5 separate regions of the Homo sapiens genome follow, and regions 2, 3, 4 and 5 are each linked to region 1. Evidence: promoter capture Hi-C in 16 types of primary human blood cells and fetal thymus (Javierre and others, 2016). All regions are on one chromosome and are shown on one strand. Each heading gives the region's core, a stretch centred on a gene start or on the middle of the fragment in contact. The rest is flanking DNA. Distances are from core to core; before and after follow the strand shown. Region 1 holds the start of CSNK2A2 (casein kinase 2 alpha 2). Region 2 overlaps KATNB1 (katanin regulatory subunit B1). Region 3 overlaps KATNB1 (katanin regulatory subunit B1). Region 4 holds the start of SETD6 (SET domain containing 6, protein lysine methyltransferase). Region 5 holds the start of SLC38A7 (solute carrier family 38 member 7).

Evidence for each region. The method cuts DNA at HindIII sites, captures the fragments that hold promoters and counts their contacts. A CHiCAGO score of 5 or more calls a contact.
Region 2: a contact is called between a fragment that was not itself captured here and the fragment with the promoter of CSNK2A2 in region 1, in 3 of 17 cell types (activated CD4 T cells, naive CD4 T cells and fetal thymus). The highest score is 5.4, in activated CD4 T cells.
Region 3: a fragment that was not itself captured here is called in contact with the fragment with the promoter of CSNK2A2 in region 1 in 4 of 17 cell types (activated CD4 T cells, naive CD8 T cells, fetal thymus and 1 more); the score reaches 6.2 in activated CD4 T cells.
Region 4: the fragment with the promoter of SETD6 here is called in contact with the fragment with the promoter of CSNK2A2 in region 1 in 13 of 17 cell types (activated CD4 T cells, M0 macrophages, M1 macrophages and 10 more); the score reaches 8.4 in activated CD4 T cells.
Region 5: the fragment with the promoter of SLC38A7 here is called in contact with the fragment with the promoter of CSNK2A2 in region 1 in 16 of 17 cell types (activated CD4 T cells, total B cells, naive B cells and 13 more); the score reaches 16.9 in activated CD4 T cells.

The regions. Positions count from the first base shown.
Region 1 is chr16:58,196,036-58,199,422 of GRCh38, forward strand. It overlaps CSNK2A2 (casein kinase 2 alpha 2), which reads right to left and starts at 2,071. Exons shown (of 12, transcript NM_001896.4): 1 at 1,598-2,071; 2 at 698-809. The coding sequence starts at 1,701. RefSeq lists silencers at 1,505-1,574, 1,975-2,244, 2,295-2,424. The HindIII fragment of the contact is 2,827 bases long and covers 602-3,387 here.
Region 2 is chr16:57,755,881-57,759,355 of GRCh38, forward strand. KATNB1 (katanin regulatory subunit B1) reads left to right here. Exons shown (of 20, transcript NM_005886.3): 17 at 1-37; 18 at 112-186; 19 at 476-592; 20 at 934-1,364. The coding sequence ends at 1,066. It overlaps KIFC3 (kinesin family member C3), which reads right to left. Exons shown (of 20, transcript NM_001130100.2): 19 at 3,245-3,273; 20 at 2,337-3,029. The coding sequence ends at 3,269. Among named protein-coding and RNA genes, the nearest start is that of MIR6772, 15 kb to the right of the region's middle. RefSeq lists enhancers at 1,109-1,748, 1,337-1,631 and a silencer at 1,430-1,579. The HindIII fragment of the contact is 2,219 bases long and covers 162-2,380 here.
Region 3 is chr16:57,738,407-57,741,509 of GRCh38, forward strand. The region is part of intron 2 of KATNB1 (katanin regulatory subunit B1); the gene reads left to right. Among named protein-coding and RNA genes, the nearest start is that of KATNB1, 4.2 kb to the left of the region's middle. The HindIII fragment of the contact is 6,249 bases long and covers 1-3,103 here.
Region 4 is chr16:58,513,643-58,516,829 of GRCh38, forward strand. SETD6 (SET domain containing 6, protein lysine methyltransferase) reads left to right here and starts at 1,875. Exons shown (of 8, transcript NM_001160305.4): 1 at 1,875-1,922; 2 at 2,149-2,455; 3 at 2,560-2,701; 4 at 2,836-3,030; 5 at 3,166-3,187. The coding sequence starts at 1,896. It also overlaps a transcript of NDRG4 not described here. RefSeq lists enhancers at 1,550-1,719, 2,760-2,929 and a silencer at 1,840-2,499. The HindIII fragment of the contact is 14,988 bases long and covers 686-3,187 here.
Region 5 is chr16:58,683,219-58,686,315 of GRCh38, forward strand. SLC38A7 (solute carrier family 38 member 7) reads right to left here and starts at 1,552. Exons shown (of 12, transcript NM_018231.3): 1 at 1,499-1,552; 2 at 737-960. RefSeq lists enhancers at 924-1,768, 1,279-1,338. The HindIII fragment of the contact is 5,837 bases long and covers 1-1,609 here.

The sequences.
Region 1 (3,387 bases), core at 821-3,320:
AATTTTTTCCAACTTTCTTTCTGGAATAACATACAGCATGCACCAAGAGTAACAAACACAGTGCTCAGGGAGCCCTTAAATTGAGAGTGGCTTTTCTGTCTTTTGATTACCTATTTATTTTCTAACAAACGGAGCCCTTTTGGAATTTTTGCTTTAGGGAATTTACATTTTAGAACAAACACTTTACTGAACTTAGATTTGTGATGTCTGCACATTTTCTTGAAAGTTCATGGGAAAATGGGGTGGAAAAAGAAGTAATGAAGGGACATCAGATAAATAAAATTTGAGCGTCGGCTGGGCACAGTGGCTCACGCCTCTAATCCCAGCAACTATAGGAGGCCTGCAAGGAGTCCTTTTGGAGGACTGCTTGAGCTCAGGAGCTTAAGACCAGCCTGGGCAACATGACCAGACCCTGACTCTACAAAAAAATTTTAAAAATAGCTGGGCGTGGTGGCATGCACCTGTAGTCCCAGCTACTTGGGAGGCTGAGATGGATCACTGGAGCCCAGGAGTTGAAGGCTGCAGTGAACTATGATCTGCACTCCAGCCTGGGTGACAGAGTGAGACTCTGACTCTAAACAAATAAATTAAATTAAATTCAAGCTTGCATTGCCCATTATAGAATGTGACTGGGGTACCTTACAAACTTTTGCCCTGTGGGGAGGAAAATGTTACATACCACTCATAGGACACTCACCTTCAGGATTTTTACAACCACTCTCTCATTGTTGGTGATATTAATGGCCTCAAATACTTCACTATATTTTCCCCGACCAAGTTTTCGAACCAGTTGGTAATCATCTTGATTACTGTAAAAGGAAGACACACACATAAATGCCAGGACTGGGGGTTAACCAAGCCTATGCCCACTGTACACGTCATTCAGCCGCTTCCACCAGGCAAACACTTGGAAGTGTCTATACATCACGTCACAACTCATTCCCTAAATGAAAGCCACGACATAATCTTGGCTCCCTTCACTCTGCAGAGCTCCTAACCTAATTGGTCTCTCCTAACTTGGGAAGATGGGGCAGGAAGGCAACGCTCTGAGCCAATCCAGAGGGGCGAGCAAAGCACCCGTCCTGAAGGCCTAGAGGGTGCCCCCTGTGCCCCGCGGCTCCCCAGCACCTGCTTCTCGTTTCACATCTTCAAGGTAGACAATGCCTGTTTTAAAAATCTGGACGTCTTTAAGAAATTTCCTCCCACCACCTCATCTCAGAAAACCTAAAAGGCAGGGCATTTTAATAGCTCCAAAGGACAGCTGTTGACTTCCCACCCCAGTGGAAACCCAGAAGTGTGAGGAAGGGCAGCTCCCTCACTTCCACCCGGCGTCGATCCCTGGACCCCACACTTCTCCCCGAGTAAAAAAGCATTCCTTGGGGGAAAGGGGTGCGCAAAGCGGGGAGAAAGGGACGAAACGGGGGTAAAGGGGAGGGAAGAGGAAGACGAGGACATGTGCGAGAGCGGGACCTCTGCCTCCCTGCGGGCCCGCGGAGGGGTCGGCGGGAGACACCACCGGGCCCGAGTGCGGTTCGCAGGGGGTGGCCGGGCGGGGGCAGGGATCAGCGGGCCCGGCGGGGGGCGGCGACGGCTTTACCCCCAGCTCGGGACGTGAGCCTCGTAGTCCCAGTACTCGCGGCTCCTCAGACTGTTCACCTCGGCGTAGACCCGGGCCCTGCTGCCCGCGGCCGGGCCGGGCATGGCGGGCGGGACCGGGGGGCGGCGCGGGGCGCAGAGGGTGGCGGCGGCGGCGCGGCGGGGGACGCGGGGCGTCGGGCGGAGGAGGCAGCGGGCCGCCGGGCGCTGGAGGAGGAGGAGGAGGAGCGCGGCGGCGGGCGGCCGCGCCAGGCCGGGCCCGCGGGGGCGGGCGGGCTGGGGGCGCGGGGGGCGCCGGCCGAGCCGGCCCGGCCCTGGAGCGGCCGGCGGGGCGGCGGGGCGGGCGGCGCTCGCGCTCCGCGGCGGTCTCCGCTCGGCTCGCGGCCCCCAGGAGGCGGCGGCGGCGGCACCGGCAGCGGCAGCCACCGGCCGGGAAAGGGGCAGCGGCGGCGGCAGCGGAGAAGAAGGAGGAGAGGAGGAGGAGGCGGAGGAAACCCGGAAAAGGGGCCGCGCTCACTGGGAGCGGCCGCCGCCCGGCCTGGGGCCGCCCAGGCTCACAGCGCCCCCTGGAGCGCGGGGGGACCCGCCGGGCGGTGCCGGCCCCGCCCCGGCCCCGCCCCGGCACGCCCCGCCGCCTACCTCGCGCCCTCCGCCACCCTCGCCCTCCCGCCGCCACAGGTCGGACTGTCCAAATCGCCTCACCCTCGGGCTGGCTTGACTTCACGCCACAGGAGCCCCCCCTTCCACTGGCCGTTGCCCTAGAGCCCTCGCCCGCGACTCCCGACCCTTTCACTGTCCTTGGAGACCCTATCCCCAGCCCTGCACTCACCCAGCTTTTACCCACCCAACACATCCCATACTGACCCTATTCTGACCCTCCTGTCACCCAAACTGTCAAGTCCCTCCCCAGGGCCTCACTCAAACCTCAGAACCTCCCCCACCTCAATACTTCTCCCTTCCCCCGAGACATACCCCTCCTTCCCCCTCTGGACCCTGCCCTGTTAGGGTAGACTCCTCAGTCCCCAAGGCTTCCTACCCCCGTCATTCAGAGTGCTCCTCACAAAACCTTTCTACACTTCCCCCAAATGCCCTTCCAGAGCCTTCCCTGAATATCCACTTTGGTCACTTGGTTAAGCTGGCATTGACCAGGTTGTGCCACTGCAAAGTTACAATTTTTCCCTTTGTGATTAATAAGTCATTTGTGGGGAGAGACTTTGAGAGTGTAAATCTCCTGTTTGTGTTTAGGAGGAGGGAGAGCAGGAGAATTGCAAATCCGACCTGAAGGGACAGGCTGGGTTGGGGATGTGCCCAGAGTAGGTGGTCAACTGAGCTGGCCTGGCTTCCAGTGCTGCCTGCAGCCTTGAACACCCTTCTCCTTTGATCTTCTAGGCCTTTCTTCTGTCTTCCTTTCCCATCCCTCATCCTTTATCGACAGCACCTCTGCACCCAGTACAGGTTGCTTTCATTCCAGTCCCTTTTCACATTCTGTTTTCTGGATGAAACCCTGGGCCTTCCTGCTTGACACAGCTAAGAGCACAGTCTGTGGAGTCAGATCTATCCAGCACTGCTACTTAGAAGCTGTGTGACCTTAGGGCAATTACTCAACCTCTCTGTGTCACAGATTCTACAGCATAAAACCAGTAATAACGCTCACTTCACAGGGCTGCAAGGAGAATTAAACAAGGTAAACCATGTGAAACACTTAGGATGGTGTTCACTATTAGGATAGCATGTGTTCAATATGATTATTTCCAGGCCTAGGGCCTTTCTCTGCTCATTCCTCCCTCCCTG
Region 2 (3,475 bases), core at 21-2,520, 440 kb before region 1:
TGGTGGTGGACCTCCTGAACATCGTCAACCAGAAAGCGTAAGTGGCTGCAGAGGGGGAGTGGGCGGAGGGGCAGGGCTGGGCTGATGGCAGCATGTCCTGGCCTCTCCTAGCTCCCTGTGGAAGCTGGACCTGTGCACCACCGTCCTGCCACAGATTGAGAAGCTTCTGCAGAGCAAGTATGAGAGGTGCGTGTGGGGAAGCCATGCCTGCCTGAAGCAGGGGGAGGGGAGAGGTAAGAAGCCTCCTCCAGAACCATGGGAAGGACCCCCAAGAGCCTGGGTGTTCCTGTGAGCTGGCTGTGAAGCATTGCTGCCCCTCAACAGTCCGGAGGTGGGAGTGGAAACAGGCGTGTGTGGGTGTATGTGTGGGTGTGTCTGTGTCTGTTTCTGCCCCTCTCCTCCTTTGTTCCTTGCTGTTTCTCTTTCTGTCTGTGGCCCTTGGTCCATCTGTGACTTCATCCATCTCCCCCTAAAGCTACGTCCAGACGGGCTGCACCTCCCTGAAGCTGATCCTGCAGCGGTTTCTGCCCCTCATCACAGACATGCTGGCGGCCCCACCCTCTGTGGGTGTGGATATCAGCAGGGAGGAGAGGTGAGGGCAGCGCATGTGTTGGGGGCAGGGGTGCCACAACAGGTGAGGGGACAAAGGCCTGGAGGCCTGGGCCCCTCTTACTGACAGTCCTGCTGGGACAGAGTACAGAGGAGGCGTTGGTCTGGGGCCATGGCTCAGGGTGTGGGTGGGCTTAGCCAGAGCTGGGTTCCTCCATGGCCTGGCTGTGCCCACAATCCCTGGCAGGGCCTGGGTGGTTCCCCTCTGGGCCTCCGCCTTCCCTTGGGAGGAAGGGCTGGAGCAGTTAGGACAGCAAAGGCCCTGGGGTTGGGTGTGGGTGGTGGTGGTGCCAGCTAGCCCCTCAGGCACTGCCCTCTCTACAGGCTGCATAAGTGCCGGCTCTGCTACAAGCAGCTTAAGAGCATCAGCGGCCTGGTCAAGAGCAAGTCAGGCCTGAGCGGCCGCCATGGCAGTACCTTCCGCGAGCTGCACCTGCTCATGGCCAGTCTGGACTGAGGAAAGCAGTGGGCAGGGGCGCTCGGCAGCCCACAGGGCCTGGCCTCAGCCCCCACTCCTGTTCCTTGTGCACCCACTGGCCCATGAGCCTCTGCCTGGCCCCTGCTGCTGTCCTGTGGCCGTCCTGGAGGAGGTGATGCTGGTCCCTGGCCACCTCTACAGCCCTGAACTCTTGAGACAACTCTCTCCAGCAATAGCTGCCCAGCTTTGCCCAACTGTTGCTTCTTGGGGCAGCGAACTGAGCCCTGGGGCTGCTGCTGTAATTTATAAGGCAAATTTTATTAAATTTGTAACTATTCCCAGGTTTCCTTGTGGGGAATGTTTTCTGCTGGCCACAGGGCTCCCCGGGCCCAGGAGTGCCTGCCCCATGGTTTGAGATGAGGCCACACCCCCTCCAAGCCCGGGGGTGGGGCTCTGGGCCATGTGGCCAGCAGGGGGCAGCAGAGAATCAGGCCTCTGGGACAGCACCAGTTCAGCCAGTGCAGACTGGGAAGGAAGGGGAGGCGGCAACCACCCTTCCACCACTGGGTGTTGAGGTTAGGGGTGGCCCCCACCAGCCCGTTCCTCCCCACCTCAGCTACACTCAAGCTGTCTTATGGACACCCCCAGGATGCCTCCAGGGGCAGGACTAGAAGGGCACCTGCCCCTTCCTCTGAGCAGGGCTCCGATCAGCTGTCACTCCCTGCTGGAGTCCCCAGCACTGGCTGGCGGGAAAGGGCTCCCTGCTCCGTGGGCACTGCGACAGGTGGGCCCCCTCCTGCTCCCAAGGCAGGGACCAGGTACAGCCCCGCCCCGGGGTGGTCAGGGTCCTCGGCACTGGAGGAAGGTGGCGTGGACCTCTGGCCAGTTCACTGAAGAGGGAAAAGGCCAGGGCAAAGAGTGGGCAGTGGGTGGTGCCCAGCAGTAACCTGGAAGCCCAGCATGGTTTGGGCAAGGCTTTGATAGCCTTTGAAGCTCTCTCCAGCCTTAGTTTCCTTCCCATCAGTAACATGGAGGAATGCCCCTGTTGGGAGGTCAGTTATCGTGGGCACATGGTAGGTACCGCATGAGGCGACTGTGACCACAAACAACAGAGAAAGTGACCCAGGGTGGGACAGCGCAGGCTCCCCCCAGTTGTTTGTTAAGGACGCATGTCCCTAACTGACCTAGAGGACAGATCCCAGAGGGCTGTGGGGTGACCAGCCAGCGGGGGAGTCCACAAGACCTGCCAGTGCCCCGTCCCCCTAATCAGACCAAGAGGGGCTCACAGACCAACTTTTTCAGACCATACTTGTGTAAAAAGGCTTCTTTTATTTTAATAAGTAAAAATGGCTAAGCTTCCAAAAGTTCTTAAATAGGATTTCAGAGGGAAGAAAATTCGAGAGACCAGCGAGCCAGGCAGGTGAGCGAGCAGCAGAATCCCCCACCCGCTGGCTGCCTCTGCCAGCCATAAACACAGCACGGCCCCGTGGCGGGAGGCCATGCGCCTCCGCACACCCCCCAGCTGCGGGAACCCTCCTTGAAGGAGAGGGGCGGGGAGGGCTGCCATTGGTGCCACCAACCCACCCCAGTCCCCATGGTTCTTGGGTCTGCCCAGAGGCTCCTCGCCCACCCCCTAAGGAGGGGGCTGGCCAGCTCTGCAAGCTGAGGAGAGGGGCCGAGAAAGCCTGGGTGAGAGGCCCACCCTCCTCCACACTCCCGCCCTCCTCACGGGGCCCAGTTCGCTGATGGCCCAGGCCTGCCAGGAAGAGCAGCCACCCCCGCCTTTCCGCCCATGCAATTTGCACTCAGAGCCACAGCCGAGAGACACCGTTTCCTTCTGAACATGTTTCTCATCTTTGAGGGGAGACGGGGCAGAAGAAGAGCCTCCACTCTCGCCTCTACCTCCGGGGGTCCTGGCGCTGCAGCAGGGACAGGCCAGTGAGGGCCCAGCTTCAGGCCCAGCGGGGTCACATCCGTCACACAGGCAGTGGCCGCGACTTCCCTGCAGGGGCATGAGATCATCAGCCTCTTGTCCACTTGCCCACCGGCAGCCCACAGCAGTTGCCACCGAGAGCAGGAGGGAACCCAGCAAAAGCACATAGACAAGCGACAGCAGGGGCTAGACCCAGCTCTGAACAGCAGAACGTCCCAGCGCAGCCCTGCAACCCACTGCGGGCAGGCAGGCGGGCAGCCCTGGGCCACAGGCCCCACACTCACCTAGAGACTCTGCAGCCCCAGCCGTCAGGCTGAAATCAAAGTGACAGGCGTCTCACTGGTGGGCTTGCCTTGGGCCAGTACCCCACAAGACCCTGCTGCTGCTACCCCTTTGGACTCAAGGATGGGCCAGGCCCTCCCATGATCTGGGCTAAACAGGGGCTGGAGCCCTGGGTCCCGGTCCTGTGGCGGGGCTCACTCCTCACCTAGGAGGTAGGCAAGCCCGGCCCTTTC
Region 3 (3,103 bases), core at 69-2,568, 460 kb before region 1:
CACCACACCCGGCTAATTTTTGTATTTTTAGTAGAGACGGGGTTTCACCATGTTGGCCAGACTCGTCTCGAACCCCTGACCTCAGGTGATCCACGTGCCTCAGCCTCCCAAAGTGCTGGGATGACAGGCATGAGCCACCATGCCTGGCCAAGACTCCACACTTTTTAACCATGAATTTAACCATAAGACTCTGGGCAAAGCTCTTTGCAGGGCCTCTGTTTCCTTGTTTGTAAAGTGAGAGGTTTGGGCCATTTTCATGTTGTTCCCCAAAACTCTAGGGCTCTGGGAGAACCCTGTTATGGTTCCCCAAGGAAGGCACACTTTGGTCAGAGTGGCTTTGTAATTATTGGGATTACGTATTCATCCCTTCGACAGCTGGCCTTTCCCCAGAGCTAGGCACTGGGGAGCCACTGGGGGACAAAGTAGTCAAGGTCTCTGTACAGCGGGAGCTCAGAGCCTGGGGAGAGCAACAGGCAGGAACTGGATAACCGTATCCCTCTGTGTCTCCTCTAGTTGCAAGCTGGTGCCTGTGCTTTGAATCAGTTAGCTGGGGGGTAGGGGTAGGGGTGGGGTGGGAATGCTGCAGGCTGCATGAACAGCAAGTGCAAAGGCCCTGAGGCAGGAGGCTCAGTGTATTGGAAGGACTCAAGGGAGGCCATGGGCAGTGGCACAGCAGCAGGAGGAATGTGGGGCCGCACGGACCTACTGAGTTCTCAGGACCCCAGCCCTCCTGAGGCTGCCGTGCTTTATCATAAAGGCAAGGCCAAGCCATCAGTGTGTGCGAGCAGGAGGTAATGAGATCAGGCGTATTGGGCATCTGCTGCTGCTGCTGATTTCATGTGCACGGTGGTGTCCGTGGGAATCAACTCTGAAGAGCCCAGGGCCACGTGACCTCTGGCTCCTTGTGGCTCCAGGGTCTGGTGAGGATCAGAGGTGCGTGGCCCACATGAGGTCGTTGAAACCTAGTACTTTGTATCTTGCATTTGGGATGCTGATCCTCAGCCCCTCTGGCCACGCCGCACCATGTTCCCCAGCTTTGGCTGGATGTGGGGCCCAGGTTGTACTCCCAGAGCTTGGCCTGCCAGTAGACACTGAGGATTTTTATTTTTTATTTTTGGTATGAAAATCAAGTATTCGGCCTGGGCTGTTGGTTGCTGTCCAACAAGCCAGGATGAAGGAGGAGCTCTTGGGGTGGTGCCCCGTGCCTCCTTTGCAGGTGCCTGTGCTGTGTCCCTGCCCCTCTGCCCTCCCTCTGTGGGCTCCAGTCAGTCCCTGGTCAGGCTGCTTAGAGGGGAGTGATGTGGGCTCCTCCAGAAGGGCCCAACTTCTAAATCTTTCTCACTCCAAAGTCTGCGGTTTTGCCAGCTCAGTGTCCCGCCCCCACCACCATCTGATTATACTGGGGCATATTTCGTGCAAGGCCTAGAACAGGCACCCAGGAAATACTGATATTATGAATGAATGCCCCTGACTCCAGGGGCAGCAGTCCTGAGGCCCAGTGAGGTGGGGCCCAGCCAGACACTTTCCCTGGGAGGAGTGAGGGCCAGGGGACAGACAGAGCCCTCCAGGTAGGCCAGGGGGAGCGAGCAGTGCCTCCACGGAGAGGACACCAGGCTCGGGCACGGAATGCCAGGGAGAAGGTGCTTTGCCCTCTTTCTGGGTCAGGTGGAAACCTTGAACAGACACGTCTGTGGCTGGAATTCCTCAGGTTTCTGTCCCGACAGTGTCCAGAGGACAGAAGGCTCTCATCGAGACGGGACTAAAGTGGGGCCCAGCTCCCTGGGATCCCCATGGCGAACTCCCAGCGCCCTGGCCCAGGTTTGGGCCCACAGGGAACCCTCGCCCTTGCTGGCGCTGCTGCCTGTGCTGGCTCTGCCCCGACCGGCCCAGGAGGCAGGGTGTCATCAGTGAGATTCAGCCTGCGACTTGTCCCCTGGGTATTCCTGGTGGCCCCTTGGAGCCCAGGTTTCTGGCAAGCAGCTTCCCTGGGCCCAGTTTCCCAACCTCCTTGTGGTCTGAAGCCCGCAGCAGAGACACCCAGGCAGGGTGGAGTCGGAGCTGGGGTGCAGGAGGGGCCTCTGTGGAGCGCCGTGGCTCCAACACCCTTTTCCTTGGCGTCACCCACGCTGGCCTTCCGGGTGCCTCGGGGCGTCAGCACCTTGGGGTTTTCCCCTGGCCTGTGTGGGGAGAACTGTCTTTTTTCTCCCTTCTTTCCAGGAGGAGCTCATGCAGGGATGGGTTCTGAGGCCCGGGCCGCCTCTTGGTTCCCTGCCTGTGCTTTGCTCCCTGCGGAGTCCTCCGAGGCTCCTGTCTGCCATCTCCACGGACCAGGCCAGGGCCTTGGGCTGTCTGCACAGGCTCCTCCTCTGTGTGGTCAGCCCTCACCCCCACCCCAGCTGCTCAGTCTGTTGCCTCCTGCCCCCTCCTCATGAAGCCCACCCTCTGGTGCCCGCCCAGGCCCCCATGCCCACTCTCTCATGGTGACTAGCCCCGAGCCTGCCCAATGTCACGGAGCCCTCGCCTGCTACTAAGCAGCACGTAGGCGCGCTCTGAGGGAGTCCTCAGCATCAGGTGTGAGCAGACACCACGGGCATCCCCACTTTCCAGACGAGGAGCCAGGCCCTCAGAGGACAAGTGACCTAGTAGCCAAGGCCACGCAATAGCAGATCACAGACCTCAGACCAGAACCTGATCCGTGATTGTGAATCTGAGCCGAAGCCCTGTGCAGGCTTACCTGGGGGCAGCTTGTCTAGAGGTGACTTCGGTTGTTCTTAAAGTGTGTTCTCCAAAGCAGGGTTTGTATGTACACACAAGCAGCAGCTGAGAGGTGTGTAGGCAGTGCATGGGTCAATTTTTTTTATTTCAATAATTGTTTTTCTTTTTGTATCATAGAAAGAGTATCATGAGTATATCAAACTTGTAATTTCATGGACATTGCTTAAGCCCAAGCTAATAAAAATAGCAAGTCAATTTTAAAAATTGCGTATAACTAGTCAATATTACCAGGTGATATGCAGAAACAGGAAGAAAATCGTGAAGTCTAAAGGTAGGAAAGACAGGCATGATGAAAGTTGAGAAACAGTGATTTCCGTCTCAGGCCCAT
Region 4 (3,187 bases), core at 625-3,124, 320 kb after region 1:
CCCCTGACTCTGTGACAAAATACAGCTCTCCTCAGCCAGGCACGGTGGCTCAAGCCTGTAATCTCAGCACTTTGGGAGGCTGAGGCGGGCAGATCACTTGAGGCCAGCAGTTCGAGACCAGCCTGGGCAACATGGTGAAACCCCGTCTCTACTAAAAATACAAAAATTAGCTGAGCATGGTGGCGCGTGCCTGTAATACCAGCTACTCGGGAGGCTGAGGCAGGAGAATCGCTTGAACCTAGGAGGCAGAGGTGGTAGTGAGTGGAGATCGTGCCACTGCACTCCAGCCTGGATGACAGAGCAAGACTCTGCCTCAAAATAAAACAAAAAAACAAAATACAGCTCTCCAGAAAAAAATGCCTTAAAGACAAAACAAAACACCCCTGCCCTCCAAATCTCTTGCCTGAGTCACTACATTCCTTCAAAGATAAATGACCTACTCTTTGCCTTCTCCTAAACATACGATCATGTCTGACAGGGTTAATGATTATACTCTGCAATCTATAACCAGATATACTTATCCCTAAACTTTGATATGATTTTACACATACTAAATCTTCACCTATGTATAACCTAAACTAAAATACCGTGTTAGAGGAGCCTCACAAGATTACTCCTGGGCTACAGGCCTCAGTCTATAGTCCTCAATAAGGCTTCTAAATAAAACTAATTTTAATTATTTAAAAGCTTAATATTTTTTCTTTAGTCAACATACCAATCCTTACATTAATTCTACAGAGTAGGTATTATCTTAGTTTCGCAGGTGAGGAGACTAAGGTTCAGGAAAAAGGATTTGCCTGAGTAACAGACCAGGCCGCGCGCGGTGGCTCACGCCTGTAATCCTAGCACTCTGGGAGGCCGAGGCGGGGGGATTGCCTGAGCTCAGGAGTTCGAGACCAGCCTGGGCAACGCGGTGAAACCCCGACTCTACTAAAAATAAACACAAAAAATTAGCTGGGCATGGCAGCGTACGCCTGTAGTCCCAGCTACTTGGGAGGCTGAGGCAGGGGAATTGCTTGAACCCGGGAGGTGGAGGTTGCAGTGAGCCGAGATCGCACCACTGCACTCCAGCCTGGGCGAGACTCCCGTCTCCCCAACGCGCCAAAAAAAAAAAAAAAAAAAAGGAAAAAAAAAAAAAACTGAGTGTTGAGCTGCGGCGTTGCTTGGCTTCAAAACCCATTCCTGTAACCTCTATATTCACAGCCTCATTTTCTTACATTTAACAGCATGCTACTTCCCCAGGTTTAACCACCATTTGTTTTATTCATTTATTTACCCAATAGGTAGATATTGAGTCCCTACTATGTCAGCTAATAAAACCCACCACGTGCTATGCAGCAGATTAAAAACGAGGATGTACTGGCAAATAAGGGCAGAGAGGATCTATTCTAGATCCAGGAGCCCTCTAGGCCACGCCACTCTGAAACACACACGAAAACTGCTCTGAACGAATACCACCAGTAAAAGGGTTCCATGGCCATCGGCAACAAGGGGTCGAGATCAGGAGGTCGCTCGCCGCCCAGTTGCGTCGCTCACCACCGGCCGGCCACCAGACCCTCGGCTTCCGATCCAGAAACCGTATTTTGTTCTTGCACCCAGACCGCAAGAAGCCTCAGCCCTCGGGGACAGACCGAAGGCCAGGGCTGTACCTGGCTCAGAACCAGGCGCCAAGCGGCACGGGACTCTCCTTCTGCACTCGCAGCGCGTGAGTGCAATTGGAGATCCTGGACTCAAGATGTTTTCATGAGGAACGATTCCAGCCCGCGGTAACTCCGGCCAGTCTGCAGCGTGGACGACAAAACAGGCACCACGTGGTTCCGGCGCCGGGGCGGGGCCAGAGACGCCGGAAGTGACCGCGCGGTGCGCCGGCCCGCGAGGAAACGCGCTCTTAGACCATGGCGACCCAGGCGAAGCGTCCACGGGTGAGTGGCGGGCGCGGGGTCCAGCCTTTTCCTCCGCGCCTCACCCCTTCTCCGTTCGCAGAACCGTCCGCCTGCGCCCCCTCCGCTCCCTCCCGCGGGTCCCGCGCCCCTCTCCGCTCGTCCCCTCCTCCACCCAAAGCCCGTTCTGCGCTCGCGCCGCGGTCTCCTGCAGTTCCCAGCGGCCTCTCTGGGGGTCGGACCTGGTCACTGCGCGCACTTATCTCAGGTGGCGGGGCCCGTGGACGGCGGCGACCTGGATCCTGTGGCCTGCTTCCTGAGCTGGTGCCGGCGGGTGGGGCTGGAGCTGAGTCCCAAGGTGAGCGAGCGAGCCGGCGGGCGGAGGACCCGCGGCGGGGCGCGGGCTGCCCTGACCAGCCCTCCTGCTCAGGTGGCGGTCAGCCGGCAGGGCACGGTGGCCGGCTACGGCATGGTGGCCCGGGAGAGCGTGCAGGCCGGAGAGCTGTTGTTCGTGGTGCCGCGGGCCGCGCTCCTGTCGCAGCACACCTGCTCCATCGGCGGCCTGCTGGAGCGAGGTGGGCACGGCGGCGGGCTAGGGCCCTGGGGCGGGGCGGGGCGGGGCGGGGCGGGCCCGGCCCGCGAGGCCGCGCCGGGGCGCTCACACCTGTGTCTTCCTCAGAGCGAGTTGCGCTGCAGAGCCAGTCGGGCTGGGTGCCACTGCTGCTGGCGCTGCTCCACGAGCTGCAGGCCCCGGCCTCACGCTGGAGGCCCTACTTTGCGCTCTGGCCCGAGCTGGGCCGCTTGGAGCACCCGATGTTCTGGTGAGAGCCTTGGGAGGGGTTGGGGAGCGCCTGCACCGTAGCCTGCTGCAAGAAGTTTCCCCGCCCCTGCACCAGTCCTACCCAGTAAAGTGTGTGAAGGAATGAAGGGAACCTGGGTGTGGGTGTCCCTGCAGGCCAGAGGAGGAGCGCCGGTGCCTGCTCCAGGGCACAGGCGTACCTGAGGCCGTGGAGAAGGATTTGGCCAACATCCGCAGCGAGTACCAGTCCATCGTGCTGCCCTTCATGGAAGCCCACCCCGATCTCTTCAGCCTCAGGGTTCGCTCCCTAGAACTCTACCACCAGCTGGTGGCCCTTGTGATGGCCTATAGGTCAGTGGGTGGGGCCTCTGAGGACGGAACCCTTTTCTTTACAACTCTATAGAGGGACAAAAGTGGAAAAACAGTGAAATCCACCCCCAGTCCCTCACCCAAGACAGGGCCTTAGCCAGGTTCTGTCAATGGCAGCTTTCAGGAACCACTGGAGGAA
Region 5 (3,097 bases), core at 302-2,801, 490 kb after region 1:
GAGCATATTCAGCCATAATGACTGCCCTAACCATTGGGCCACCCTCTCTGATGCCTTCAGCCCACTGGGGGTTTAAAATGACTAACAAGACCCCTTGGACTACTTCCCATTGCTCCTCCTGATGATGGACAAACAAAGCTGGGGACCATCCACTCATGAGAGGGAAAGGGTGAAAGTTCATGTGCTCTCAGCCATCTGTTATCAAGCATGGAACCAAGGGACATGGCACCAGAGGAAACATTCCTCTGCTGGCTCGAAACCCAGAAAGATCTGTCAGATGTCACAGGGCTTACACATCCTCTTACACATCCTGTCACCCAACCAGCAACTCAGCAAAATCAAAGCAGTGAGCAGCGAAGGCAGAGTCTTGGGACTCCCAGGCTTCCAGTGTAGCTAGAGAAAGAACCCTGCAAAGTGACCACTGCCAGAGCTGTGACCATCTCCTCCCCGCTGCTCACGTCACAGAGACAGAGGTCTACAGAGTGATTCGTCCAAGGTCACAAGGCTTGGTGCGGCTTCCTGACTCTCCAACCAAAATGTTTCCCTTGGGCACCCCTGCCCGAGTCCTGCACCATCCTCCAGCCTCTCCTGCCACCCACATGAGAGTGCAGGCTGGGGTCCTCGTGGAACTCAGAAGCTGGGGGTCCCACCTCTTGCAGATTCTCTGCCTTGGTTAAGACCTCTCGGCACCCCCACTGCTCACTGGCAAATTACTCAGCTCATTGTTGCACCTTACCTGCTCTTTCTCCCTGATGGGCTGTGCCAGAGGCGGTTGCTCCTTCTCCCCAAAGGTCTGGGATCTGATTCTCCTCACTTCCCTTTCTGGACCCAATTTCTTCTTTCTCAAGACTTTGCCTAAAATTTGCTGTCAGCAGAGGGAAGAGTTTGGGCTACTTCTGTGCTGGCTTCAGCAGAGCTGGAGGAAACTGAGCGGCTCTCACGCTTACTCATGAAATGGAGCTTCAGGACAGATAGGAAAACAGGCCCAGGAGGGAGAGGTTAGACTAAGGTCACAGTGGGTAGCTGGCAGAGCCAGAATAGAAGCCTGATGCCCACATGCTCAGGCCAGCGATGTAGGCCCCTCAGATCCCAACTGGAGTGTGCTCCCAGTCCAGCCTGGGGTTGGAGCCCTGAGATAGAAAGGGTGGGCTGCTTTGTGAGGTGAGGCTTTGTGAGGTGAGCCAGGGCGCACCCGGGCCAGGAGGCCGGGGCGGGGCGATTCCCAGGCCTGGAGCGAGAAGGGTGGGCTACTGTGGGGTAACCTGGGGAGGAGCTCCGGGACCCGATCCCGGCCTAGGACTGGGTGGAGACCCTCTGGCTGGGTAAAGGCGCGGCAGAGCTGGCGCAACAGAGGGACGGGCGTGGGGCGAGGACGCCAGGATCTGGACCCCTGCAGGGAAAGGGTCTGAGCTTTTCCGCGGTGGCGGGGACTGAGGGGCTCCACAGACCTCGGGGATCTAACACTTCCACCCTCCAGAGCCTGTCTCCGGCCACCTACCTTGGGGGATTCTTTCCCGAGCCGGCTGCGGAGACACGTGAGCATGCATCACATGACGCCCGCTCGGGCGGCCGCGGGACACGCTGGGAGTTGTAGTTTCCGCAAATGTGAAGCTTGGACAACACCAGCTCCCTGAATCCTCAGCCCGACAGCACTGCCCTGAGCCAGCCTCGCGTCCAGCCAGCTCGTGTTTATCCTCTTACTTTTAGTCTTGGCCTCTTGACCAAATCAAACACTGCTCCTTCCTCCAAGGAAGAGCATTAGGAGGTCTGGCCTCTTTGCCAGTCCCGGTGGCGGTGGGCCAAAGCTGTTTGGCCTCATTATCCTCCCGGTCTCTGTCCTTGCCTTCACGCCCATGGCCAGAGCACTGGAGTTTTTTTTTAATCAGTAATGTGGGGGACCTGGAGCCACGGTCTTTCCTGCAAGGGAGTGGGCTGGGGGCATGGTTACGACCCCATCGGTTTAGACTCTAGAACAGTTTTTGAGGGATTGTAGGTGCTCAGTAAATATTTGTTGAATGACGAAATGGGCATCCAGTCCTGGTTCTGTTCTTGGCTGTGTGTCACTCATAAATTGTCACGTAATCTCCAGCATCCCAATAGCCTCATCTCTGTTTTGTGGATATGCTCTCCACTGCACTTACCTCTCCATGCATCAGAGGTCCTCACCGATGAGGACACACTGGGAATCCTTAGAAACCCAAATCACACCTTTTTTTTTTTTTTTTTTTTTTTTTTTTTTGAGACAGAGTCTCACTCTGTCTCCCCGGCTGGGGTGCAGTGGCACGATCTTTGCTCACTGCAACCTCTGCCTCCCGGGTTCATGTGATTCTCCTGCCTCAGCCTCCCGAGTACCTGGGATTACAGGCATGCACCACCACTCCCAGCTAATTTTTGTATTTTTAGTAGAGATGGGGTTTCGCCATGTTGGCCAGGTTGGTCTCAAACTCCTGACCTCAAGTGATCCACCCACCTCAGCCTCCCAAAGTGCTGGGATTACAGGCATGAGCCACCGTGCCTGGCCTCCAAAAAGTTTATATAAATTGAATCATACTGGTTGAGTGCGGTGGCTCACACCTGTAATCCCAGCACTTTGGGAGGCCAAGGCGGGCTGATCACTTGAGGTCAGGAGTTCGAGACCAGCCTGGCCAACATGGCGAAGTCCTGTCTCTATTAAAAATACAAAAATTAGCTGGGCATGGTGGTGCACGCCAGTAGTCCCAGCTACTCGGGAGCCTGAGGCAGGAGAATCACTTGAACCCGGGGGGCGGAGGTGGCGGTGAGCAGAGATCGTGCCACTGCACTCCAGCCTGGGAGACAGAGTGAGACTCTGTCTCAAAAAAAAAAAAAAAAATAGAATCATACTGTCTTAATCAGTTAAGGCCGCTATAACAGAGTATCATAGACTGGGTGGTTTAAACGACAGAGATTTATTTTTCACCGTCCTGGAAGCTGTCAAGACTGAGGTCAGAATGCCAGCAGAGTCAAGTTCTGGGGAGGACCATCTTCATAGTTTTCAGATGGCCATCTTCCTGCTGTGTCCTCACATTGCGGAAAGCAGAGAGGGAAAGTAAACTCTCTCTTATTTTTATTTATTTTA